Regions from separate parts of the Homo sapiens genome. Here all the other regions are linked to region 3. Evidence: promoter capture Hi-C in human tissues and cell types (Jung and others, 2019). All regions are on one chromosome and are shown on one strand. Each heading gives the region's core, a stretch centred on a gene start or on the middle of the fragment in contact. The rest is flanking DNA. Distances are from core to core; before and after follow the strand shown.

Region 1 (3,480 bases), core at 496-2,995, 130 kb after region 3:
GCACAATCTCAGCTCACTGCAAACCTCCGTCTTCCCGGGTTTAAGCAACTCTCTTGCCTCAGCCTCCTGAGTAGCTGGGGTTATAGGCATGGGCCACCGTACCCCACTAATGTTAATATTTTTTGTATTTTTAATAGAGATGGAGGCTCATCATGTTGCCCAGGCTGGTCTCTAACTCCTGAGCTGAGGCAATCTGCCCACCTTGGCCTCCCAAAGTGCTAGGATTACAGGCATGAGCCACTGCACCCAGCCTTTTTTTTCTTTTCCTTTTTCTTTTCTTTTTTTTTTTTTTTTTTTTTTTTTGAGATTAAGCTTTGGTCTGTTGACCAGGCTGGGGTGCAGTGGTTTGATCATAGCTCATGGGCAGCCTTGGACTTCTGGGCTCAAGAGATCTTTTCACCTCAGTCTTCTAAGTATCCAGGACTACCAGTGTGCCCCACCATACCTGGCTAATTTTTAAATTTTTTTGTAGAGACGGAGTCTTGATATGTTTTTCAGGCCAGTTTCAAACTCCTGGCCACAAGTGATCCTGCTGCCTCAGTCTCTCAAACTCCTGGAATTACAGGCATGAGCCACCACATCTGGCCTGTAAAGATTTTTTGTCTCTAAATATGATCACATTCTGAGGTGCTGGGTATTAGGACTTCAACAATGAATTTTTTTGAGGGATACAATTTAGCCTGTAACAGGATGTAGAGGCCTCACTGGGTCTATCAAAACCTAGGCACATTGAATAAGAGCCAGCAGACTGTGGCGTAGCTAAAGCTGGTGGTGGGTGAACTCTGAGCACAGTTTAGTTTGTTCAGCACATCTCAGGCTGTGAGGCTTGCCTGTCCTTCCCAGATCCAGTCATTCTGCCTTTTGGGAATGAGAACATCCTCTTAGCACTTTTCCTTGCTTGTTCAATAACATTTTCTGTTATAAAAGTGGGGTGGGACAAAATGTGGTGGCTACTCCTATAATCCCAACACTTTGAGAGGCTGAGGCAGGAGGATCACTTGAGCCCAGGGGTTCAAGACCAACCTGGGCAACATGACAAGACTTTGTCTGTAAAAAAAATAAAATAGACGGATGTGGTGGCACATGCCTGTAGTCCCAGCCATTCAGGTGGAGGCTGAGTTGGGACGATTACTTGAGCCCAGGAAGTCAAGGCTGCAGTGAGCTATGGAGTGCCACTGCACTCCAGCCTGGGCGACGGAGTGAGACCTAGTCTCACACACACACAAAAGCACACCACAACGATTCGGAAAAGATAAATAGAGGATCTCACTCTGTTGCCCAGGCTAGTCTTGCACTCCTGGACTTAAGCGATCCTCCCACCTTGGCCTCCCAAAGTATTGGAATTACAGGCCTAAGCCACACCTGCCCTGTTTTGGGGTTTTAGTATTTACTTTTTATTCTATCCTCTTTCAGAAATAGTTAGACCCTGTCTCTTCTGAAAAGCAAAAAAGTTTAAAAATTATCTGGATGTGGGGCTGGGCACTGTGGCTCACGCCTGTAATCCCAGCACTTTGGGAGGCTGAGGCGGGCAGATCACGAGGTCAGGAGATTGAGACCAGCCTGGCTAACACGGTGAAACCCTGTCTCTACTAAAAAAAATACAAAAAATTAGCCAGGTGTGGTGGCGGGCGCCTGTAGTCCCAGCTACTCGGGAGGCTGAGGCAGGAGAATGGCGTGAACCCAGGAGGCAGAGCTTGCAATGAGCCAAGATCGCGCCACTGCACTCCAGCCTGGGCGACAGAGCAAGACTCCATCTCCAAAAATAAAAAATATATTATCTGGATGTGATGGCTTATGCCTGTAGTCCCAGCTACTCCATAGGCTGAGGCAAAAAGGATCACTTGAGCCCACCCAGCAGTTCAGGCTGCATTAAGCTCTGGTCGCACCACTGCACTCCAGCCTGGGTGACAGAGCAAGACCCTATCTCTAAAATTAAAAAAATTCTATGGCAGGATAAAAGTAGATGCATAGATCATGGTGCAGGTAAGCTGGGGTAGAATGTAAAATGAAGCCAAGCAGTCAGTATCCAGAAATGTAAACCTGAATCTCTCTGTACATTGAATAAAGGTATATTCCAGTGTAAGATTAAGCAGGGAAGATCATCAGTTCCAAAATGCATAGTGTTCTTAAGTTAAAATAGCAATTGTGTGGATTTCCCTGGCACTCAGATACAGGAGACACTATTAGATGATATCCTCGACAACATCCCCATACAAAATACCCTTTTATGGTCCCTCAAGTAGTTTTAAAGTATCCTGTTATCTTAGCACTGTTTTTGACATTTGAAAATGCAAAATATGGCCAGGCACATTGGCTCATGCCTGTAATCCCAGCACTTTGGGAGGCTGGGCCAGGGGGATCACTTGATCCCAAGAGTTTGGGACCACCCTGGGCAACACAGTGAGACCCTGTCTCATATATGTGTGTGTGTGTGTGTGTGTGTGTGTGTGTGTGTGTATGTGTGTATGTATGTATATATGTATGTATATATATGTGTGTGTGTGTGTATATATATATATATTTTTTTTTTTAAAGGAAGAAGAGGAAATATGTGTATGTGAAACTCAGGATGAGGTCCCTGAAATGGTGCTTATCGGGTCAGAGGGTGTGCATCTGAGGTTAAGCTGGGAAGGCAGGGAGCTTTTGTTCTCCTTCTCATTCCGACAGCTGCAAGCCAAGCACTGGTGGCCAGTGCTGCAGGATAGGGCATCAGCTGCAGGATATGGCATGTTGGTCAAAATGCTGTTGGCATAAGTGAGAAAAATAACAATACTCCAAAATATGTCCCCAGTTTTATAAAAATGGACCCAAATTATAAATGATACAAGCAAATACAGAGAGTAATGGTCAAACCCATTTCACTACATTCAAAATGACTTAATTCTTAGAAGTTTTGGTGGGAGAATGTGGTGTAGAGCTCTGCACAAGCAGACATTGTGCTTTTGGGGCTTCAACATGACCACCCAATCACTGATGGGACTGTTTGAAATCTGTTTTGTTGGCTTTGGCATATAATAGCCATCTTTGGAAAACTGGTCTCTGTATGGAATATGGTCTTGTGTCACTGTATAAAAATGAGAACCCAAAAGAAGCTCTCACATGATTGGGTCAGAAAATTGCCCATAACTATTGCTAGGAAAGTTTTTGAAATCTCTGAATTCAATGTAATTGAATTTCTTTAGACACCTAGCCCTCTAGGTTGAAGGAAAACCAGTTTTTTAAACTTATCGTATACTTTTTTTTTCCTGTACTGTTTGTGTGTGGATTGCATTCATCATGCTCCTCTACCCCATAATACTTTTGTATTTCCTAAGAACAAAGATAGGTAGATGGCCTTAGTTGGTATTCGTATTATAGCAGTGGCATCCAAGCACCTCTGCCTTTGTGTATGTGTGAAATTGTCCTAAAGAATGCATTTCTGGTGTATTGACAGGCCTGAGACACCCCAACACACCTTCACAGTCCTGGAGCTAGCTTTCT
Region 2 (3,374 bases), core at 100-2,599, 220 kb before region 3:
GAGACTCCCTCTCAAAAAACAAACAGAAACACCTGCATTCTCTCCACAAACTGAAGAGTGTAAATTTTTGGAAAGAATTACACTCACTCCTCCCTTGCTAGCATGGATAATCACATCTCACTCTCTCTTCTTATCACACCTCACTCTTGTTACATGGGCTTCTTTTTACAAGTAAGCAGCGGACCCTTTTGCCGGTTGCAAATCAGGGTATGAATGTGGCGAGAAATGGAGTATACCCTCTGTTTATTTAGGTTTTCCTTAATTTCTCTCAATTATGCTTTGCAGTGGTCAGTGCAGAAGTCTTGCATATCTTTGTTAGTTTTACATCTAGGTTTTTAACTTTTTTATGCTATTGTGAAAGGAAAATAAAAACTCAGGACCCCAGTTCACTATACCAAAAAAAAATTAAGTTGAATGCTGAGCCATGCAAGCAGCTACCTTTCCCTTTGTTCCTAAGCAGATAGCTACAGATAAAAGGTTCCAGGCTCAGCTGGGCGCGCTGGCTCACGCCTGTAATCCCAGCACTTTGAGAGGCCAAGGTGGGTTGATTACCTGAGGTCAGGGGTTCGAGACCAGCCTGGCGAACATGGTGAAATCCCATCTCGACTAAAAATACAAAAAAAAGTAGCCAGGCGTGGTGGTAGGCGCCTGTAATCCCAGCTACTTGGGAGGCTGAGGCAGGAGAATCACTTGAACCCAGGAGGTGGAGGTTGCTGTGAGCCAAAATTGTGCCACTGCACTCCAGCCTGGGTGACAGAGTGTCTCAAAACACCACCACCACCAACAACAACAATGCCCAAATCTGACTGGGTGCATGGCACACGGCTGTGATCCCGGCACTTTGGGAGGCAGAGGTGGGCATATCTGAGTTCAGGGGTTCGAGACCAGCCTGGCCAATATGGTGAAACCCCATCTCTACTGAAAATACAAAAATTAGCCAGGAGTGGTGGCATGTTCCTGTAATCCCAGCTACTCGGGAGGCTAAGGTAGGAGAATCGCTTGAACCCAGGAGGCAGAGGATGCAGTGAGCCAAGATAGCACCACTGCTCTCCAGCCTGGGTGAAGGAGTGAGACTGTCTCAAAAAAAAAAAAAAAAAAAAGGTTCAATACCTCCAGTCTATGTTCACCTTATCTTGAGTTCAATATCTCCACTCGATGTTCACCTAATCTTGTGTAAAGTGCTGATTTACTGATTTACTGAGCACAAGTATCAGAGGCGTGTGAACCAGAGCAACTCCATCTTGAATAGGGGCTGGGTAAAATGAGGATGAGACCTACTGGGCTGCATTCCCAAGAGGTCAAGTCATTCTTAGTCACAGGATGAGATAGGAGGTCGGCACAAGATACACGTCATAAAGACCTTGCTGATAAAACAGGTTGCAGTAAAGAAGCCAGCTAAAACCCACCAAAACCAAGATGGCAACGAGAGTGACCTCAGGTCTTCCTCAGTACTACACTCTCACTGGCGCCATGACAGTTTACAAATGCTGTGGCAATGTCAGGAAGTTAACCTATGTGGTCTAAAAAGGGGAGGCATAAATAATCTATCCCTTGTTTCACATATAATAAAAAATAACCATAAAAATGGGCAACCAGCTGCCCTCCACACTGCTCTGTCTATGGAGTAGCCATTCTTTTATTCCTTTACTGTCTTAATCAACTTACTATGGACTTGCCCTGAATTCTTTCTTGCTGGAGATCCAAGAACCTTCTTTGGGGTCTGGATTGGGACCTCTTTCTGGTAATGCAAGAGGAATACGTAATTTACTCTTCCCCTACCTGCTCCTTTGTGCTTTCTTTCTCTCTCTCTCTCTCTCTCTCTCTCTCTCTCTATATATATATATATATATATATGGCTGTTTGTAAGAAAGAGCGCCCAACTGAAATCAGCCAGAAGCCCCTCTCAGGTTTATTCTCTAGAATAAACCTGTCTTTAACTGTTGAGCCACTTTTCATGTTTCCTTCCTCTTTCTTTAACTGTTATAGTCATTATCTGTAGATACTCGAGAAACTGTTAGAAATAGGTGAATTGAGCTATATATATAGAGAGAGAGAGAGAAAGAAGGAGAGAGAGAGAGGGAGAGAGAGAGAGAGACACTGGGTCTTGCTCTGTCACCCAGGGTGGAGTACAGTGGGGCAATCATGGCTCACAGTAGCCTGGACCTCCTGGGCTCAATCGATCCTTGTGCTTCAGCCTGCTGAGTAGCAGGGACTGCAGGCATGCACCACCATATCTGGCCAATTTTTGTATTTTTTTGTAGAGATGGGGTTTCACGATGTTCCTCAGGCTGGTCTTGAACTCCTGGGCTCAAGCAATCTTCTCACCTCACTCTTCTTTTTTAAATTTTGAAGCCCTCAAAGTCACCTTTGGGGAAAGGCACAGACCATAGGCTGCTTCTGTGATTCCATTTTTTTTCCCCTCCTGGGCATTGTCCTTAACCTTGGCAAAATAAACTCTTAAGTTGATTGAGACCTGTTTCAGATGCTTTTTGATTCACACTACTACAAGCGATTTTACTTCAAAAAAGGTTTTTTTGTTTATGGCTGGTACGTAGAAATAACATTGATTTTTGCATATATTCCTTGATTCCAATTGATGCGGCTTTGATGACTGGAGGAACACCAGGGTTTTGGTTTTGTACTGATAGGATTAATGACACCGACACATGTGGAATGGTTTTTTGTTTGTTTTTAGCTTTTTATTTTTTTGAGACGGAGTTTCACTCTTGTTGCCCAGGCTGGAGTGCGATGGCACCATCTCAGCTCACTGCAACCTCCGCCTCCCAGTTTCAAGCAGTTCTCTTGGCTCAGCCTCCTGAGTAGCTGGGATTACAGACATGTGCTGCCACACCTGGCTAATATGTGTATTTTTAGTACAGACGGGGTTTCACTATGTTGGTCAGGCTGGTGGAGTGGTTTTAAGGAGCAAAATGTTTAATAGGCAAGAAAGAAGGAAGAAGAAAACAGCTTCCCCTTACAGAGACAGAGCAGGGGGATTTGAATAAAGAGAAACCCCATGTGAGTCAGAAAAGTGGTTGCTTTTATTGGGATGCTGGAGGAGTTGGTGTTTGATCTGCATAAGGCCCAGGGGATTGGTTTGACCAGGTGTGTTATTTACCCAGCCAGTGAAAAACCTGGCCCTTTTACTTTAGTCCTTTAATATGCAAATGCAGATTGCAATGTTTTGAACACATGATGTTATCTGGAGGTGGCCATGACACTTGGGATACCTGGTGACAAGGAGATGATGGTGGGAATTGCCATATTGGGTGAACCCAGTTTTTAAAGGCCGACATTTGCATATTAAAGCTTGCTGGCCCCGCCCTTCGAGCTGCCTTTTTTGTTAGAAAAGAGATGGTTTGGGGGTTGTTTTT
Region 3 (3,891 bases), core at 463-2,962:
GCCTAATGTGGAAAGGCCTTGGCTTGGGAGCAAGTGGGGGAAGGTTTAGGGCAGACCAGAGGGCCGGTGAGGGGTGTGTGCTGGAGCGGGGAACCCGGGAGGGAGGGTGTTAGGCTTGAGGGTCAGGGGACACCACAGGGATTGCTGTTGGCAGAGGGACATATGAATGGTAGTTGGCCTGGGAGCCAGCATGTGACTTGAGAGCATCACGTCCTGCAAAGTCCAGGTGAGGCCTGGGCAGTGCCTGCTGTGTGGGACCACAGCCCCTGGTGGCTCTCAGCTGTGTCCTGACACTCCAAAGAAGGTCTTAGTACCCTCTCACAGACCTAATACCCGAGCCACCTAACCCCAAATGAGCTAGAACTGCCTTCCCAACCGTGTTTGCGGGGTCTGTCTTGTCTATTGCAGCGCAAACAGAGCCCTGAGCACGCAGGAGAGCAGAGGAAGGACAGACAGAAGATGGATGGATGGATGAAGGCGGGAAGCACAGGCTGAGGGGATTTAGGGCATGTGTGGTGGGGGTGCTGTGGAGAGGAGACTGCACAGGCAGGAGCTGAGCTGGTGAATGGGAGGGTTCTAGCTCCCAGAAGGGTCTGGGCCATTGACAGGAGGGGCTTGGTCCTAGGAGGTGGGTGGTCCAGAGGTTGCAAGGAGCAGAGGAGCCCAGATGGGGAAGGGAATGGAGCTGGGGTGCAGAGAGGAGCCCCCACACAACTGCCCACATCCTGTGCAGAACCTGGGGCTCTGGGTGGTGGGAAGAGGCAGTTTCATGGCGGAGGAGGCCTGGGCCCCTGCAGCCTGGACTCCATGGATCTGGCCAGGGACTGGGGAGGATCAGGTGGAGAGAGGAGCAGCAGAGCAGCTGCCCCTCGTCCCAGCACAGGGGATGATGGGAGCCCAGGGAAGGCAGGACCCTGGCTTCGGGCATTTTCTCTGCTAGAATCTCTCGATACCTCTCTCCCTTCACCTTCTCCTCCAAGTCTCACCCAGATGATGTTTCTGTGAGTTGCCATGGGGATTCTCTCACCACCCCCCGCCAACACCCCGCAGGGGAAGCTTGTTCCAGGAGTCACTGGGCAGGGGCTGCTGCTGCTCTTCTGTGCCCACTCCTCGGATGTGCCGCTGCAGCCCTGGTCTCTGGCATCGGCCGTCACCTGGTGGAGAGGCTGCCGGAGCTGGCCAAGCAGAGGGAGGCCGATGGTGCCACTTGGTGTCTCCTCTGGCATCTGGGCAGGAGACTTCTCCCCAGAGGCCCCGGGCTGGTCTGCCCGTGTCACAGGAGGACTCGCCTCTGGTCCCTCAGTGGCCTCTGCAAACCCTGAGCCAGCCTGGGGGAGGCTGCTCAGTGGGGAAGAAGCAGTGGCCAGGCTCTGCTTGGTCACCCTGCCCTCCTGTCAGCCTCCGGGGCTGCCTCGTCGCACCTGCCCAGGGACCCAACAGCCGGTCCTCACCCCTCCCATCCTCATTGCAGCCACCCTGGGGCATTGTGAGGCCCTGCACCCAGCACTGCCCCTTCAAGCCTCCCACAGGGTCCCGCCCAGGACTCCTGGGCTCTGTGTCCGCGGGGCCATCTAGAAACACTCCCTTGTCCCCCCTTCAGCGGCATAGTACCTGTTGCCCGCCATCTGAGGGAGGTGCAGGTGCCAATCCTTCACGTGACGTGACGTGGCTCACCACAGCCTGTGTACATGTGAGCAGCCGCGTGCAGAGGGGAAGCTCTGCCTGGGCCTCAGGGACTGTGACATGGAGCAGGAGCCGCCCCCAGCCAAGCTGCTTTCAGCACAGCGTGGGCCCCCAGCACCTTGGTGCGGGGTGCGGCCCCTCGGAGGAGGGCTGTCAGGTGAAGCCTCGTGTGAGGGGGTGAGTGGCCCCCAGGCGGGGAGGAGGGGGTGCTGTGGCCTTCCTGGCCCCTAGCCTGGACACATGGGGGTGTGGGGAGCAGGAGCTGGGGCCCCCAGCACTGGCCCCGGGGCTGCGATGTGGGGGCTGCTCTGTGAGGCAGGCTCAGAGCCTTAGCCTCCAGCTGCAGGGAGCTGGGTCTTGGCCCCATCTTGCCCACATCCTGCCACCAGGAGCAGAGAGCTGCAGCTGCACCCGGGCTGTGGGGGAGGGATGCCAGGTGTATCTCTGGGTCCCGGGCCCAGCCTGCACCCAGCGCCTGAAGTAAGGGCCACCGGGCAGCCCCGGAGGTCAGGAGGGAAGTGGAGCCCGTGCTGGGTGGCTGCTTACCACTGGGCAGTGAGGAAGGCACCTGCGCTGATGAGTTTGGAAGGGGTATGGGGATCCTGGGGCCCTGGGTTCTGGGAGGTTCATGCCCAGGCCCCCCTGGGCCATCCCAAAAGCCAGTCATAGTGGGGCCCACAACCTGCCGTGCCCTGCCGAGCTCCCGCAAGCCACTTGTTGATGCTTCTCAGTCCACCCCATGCCTCTCAACCGTTTCCTCCTAGACTAGGTCTCTTCATGGCGTTTCTGGGAGAATTCCTCAGTACTAGCTTCAGATCCCCAGTCGTCTCTTCCACTGTACGTGTGCCTGAAGCTCACCACATCCCTTACTTCAGTCCTTCTATTTTTCAGTCCCTGGATTTTGTATTATTTCTTGTTCATATCCACCTGTCCTTGTTTCATTTCCGCCAGTCGGTTCAGAAGTTCTCATTCTTGTCTACGGATGCCATTCCTTTCTTTGCCTCTTTGGAGATTCTAAAGGTCTCTGAAATCATTATTAGATTACTGTATTACCTTCCTTCCTACTGGAATGAATTCACCTCCATGTTTTTTATTCTGTTGCTTACCTTTCTTAGCCTTCATATACCTCTTGCGCTTTGAAATTGATTTGCGACTCCTCTTAGCTGAGCCAATGTTGTGGAGACAGGGAGTGGCCTGCAGTGCCTGAAACTGCAGGGCAGCAGCCGCCTCCCAGGAATGTCCTGGGTCCTTTCCTCCTTTGAGGTCCCCTGCCATATGCTCAGATGGGGCCAGGCACAGCAACGGGGGCACACCTCCCTTTGGCCCAGCAGTTGGGGTGCTGCCAGGCCTGGTGGAGGTACTTGGTAAACATTTGTTATGGAAAAGCAGCAGGAGGGTTCTAAGGCTGGGATTCTGGAGCCCAGGAACAGGCCAGGCATGGCTGGAGCGGGTCCGAGTCCGTGCACTGTGTCCTGTATGTTGCTCTTAGCCGCACTCAGGAGCAGATGTGCAGGTCACTGCCTAGAAGCTGGTGGGCACCTCCGTGCAGCAGGCTCTGGGGGGTATAGCCACCATCTGGGCATGTGTACAGAGGGCCTTGCTAGTGCGACATATGAGGAACCAGAAGATGTGTGGGTTTTGATTAAATGGAGTTTTAATTAAAGTGGCCAGGTTGGGGGAGGTGAGGAGGAAGGCAGGAAGCAGCAGCAGTTTTGAGTCTGACCGCGTGGAATCCTATAAGGTGGTTCTTTCAAGAGGCATTATGCACATTCCGCAGCATGTGTCCCCTGTCTGTATGGGGCAGCATCTGCCCTCTGATCTGTCCCCAACAAGGGGTAATCACAGAGAAGTATTACATTATTAATATTTAATTTCCCCTCCTGGTTAGCAACAGATGACTCAAGGAGTAATTAGATGCACAGAGCCAACAGAGAGGGATAGGAAATTGCCAGATCCTGGCCCCGCCCCCTCCCCGGGGCCTCTGACCTTCCTGTCACTCTGGGAGGCTTCTGAGGGAGGGGAGCTGGAGGCCCAGGAGCCTTCCTGCTGCTGTGCTCTCTGTGCGCACGGCCGCAGCCCTACACCACCTTCCAGTGCTCTTGGTGAGGCTGAGAGAGGTCGCTTCGTGCCTTTGGGCCTCAGTTTCCTCATCTGTAAAATGGGCTTCCTGGGACCAGCAAGATCACAGATGACAGTCATTTCCCAAGC

What was found. The method cuts DNA at HindIII sites, captures the fragments that hold promoters and counts their contacts. A contact is called where the count stands out against the background at its distance.
Region 1: a contact is called between a fragment that was not itself captured here and the fragment with the promoter of ADORA2A in region 3, in 3 of the 25 tissues and cell types used here (bladder, lymphoblastoid cells and stomach).
Region 2: a fragment that was not itself captured here is called in contact with the fragment with the promoter of ADORA2A in region 3 in 2 of the 25 tissues and cell types used here (dorsolateral prefrontal cortex and lymphoblastoid cells).

The regions. Positions count from the first base shown.
Region 1 is chr22:24,560,787-24,564,266 of GRCh38, forward strand. The region is part of intron 2 of SNRPD3 (small nuclear ribonucleoprotein D3 polypeptide); the gene reads left to right. Among named protein-coding and RNA genes, the nearest start is that of SNRPD3, 6.5 kb to the left of the region's middle. RefSeq lists an enhancer at 1,127-1,628. The HindIII fragment of the contact is 9,525 bases long and covers 1-3,480 here.
Region 2 is chr22:24,202,807-24,206,180 of GRCh38, forward strand. No RefSeq gene overlaps it. Among named protein-coding and RNA genes, the nearest start is that of SUSD2, 23 kb to the left of the region's middle. RefSeq lists an enhancer at 2,484-3,374. The HindIII fragment of the contact is 4,705 bases long and covers 1-3,374 here.
Region 3 is chr22:24,425,887-24,429,777 of GRCh38, forward strand. It overlaps ADORA2A (adenosine A2a receptor), which reads left to right and starts at 1,713. Exons shown (of 3, transcript NM_000675.6): 1 at 1,713-1,860. All of the region lies in intron 18 of SPECC1L-ADORA2A (SPECC1L-ADORA2A readthrough (NMD candidate)), which reads left to right. ADORA2A-AS1 (ADORA2A antisense RNA 1) reads right to left here. Exons shown (of 7, transcript NR_028484.3): 7 at 3,320-3,891. RefSeq lists a silencer at 1,794-1,903 and enhancers at 3,340-3,499, 3,574-3,891. The HindIII fragment of the contact is 18,723 bases long and covers 1-3,891 here.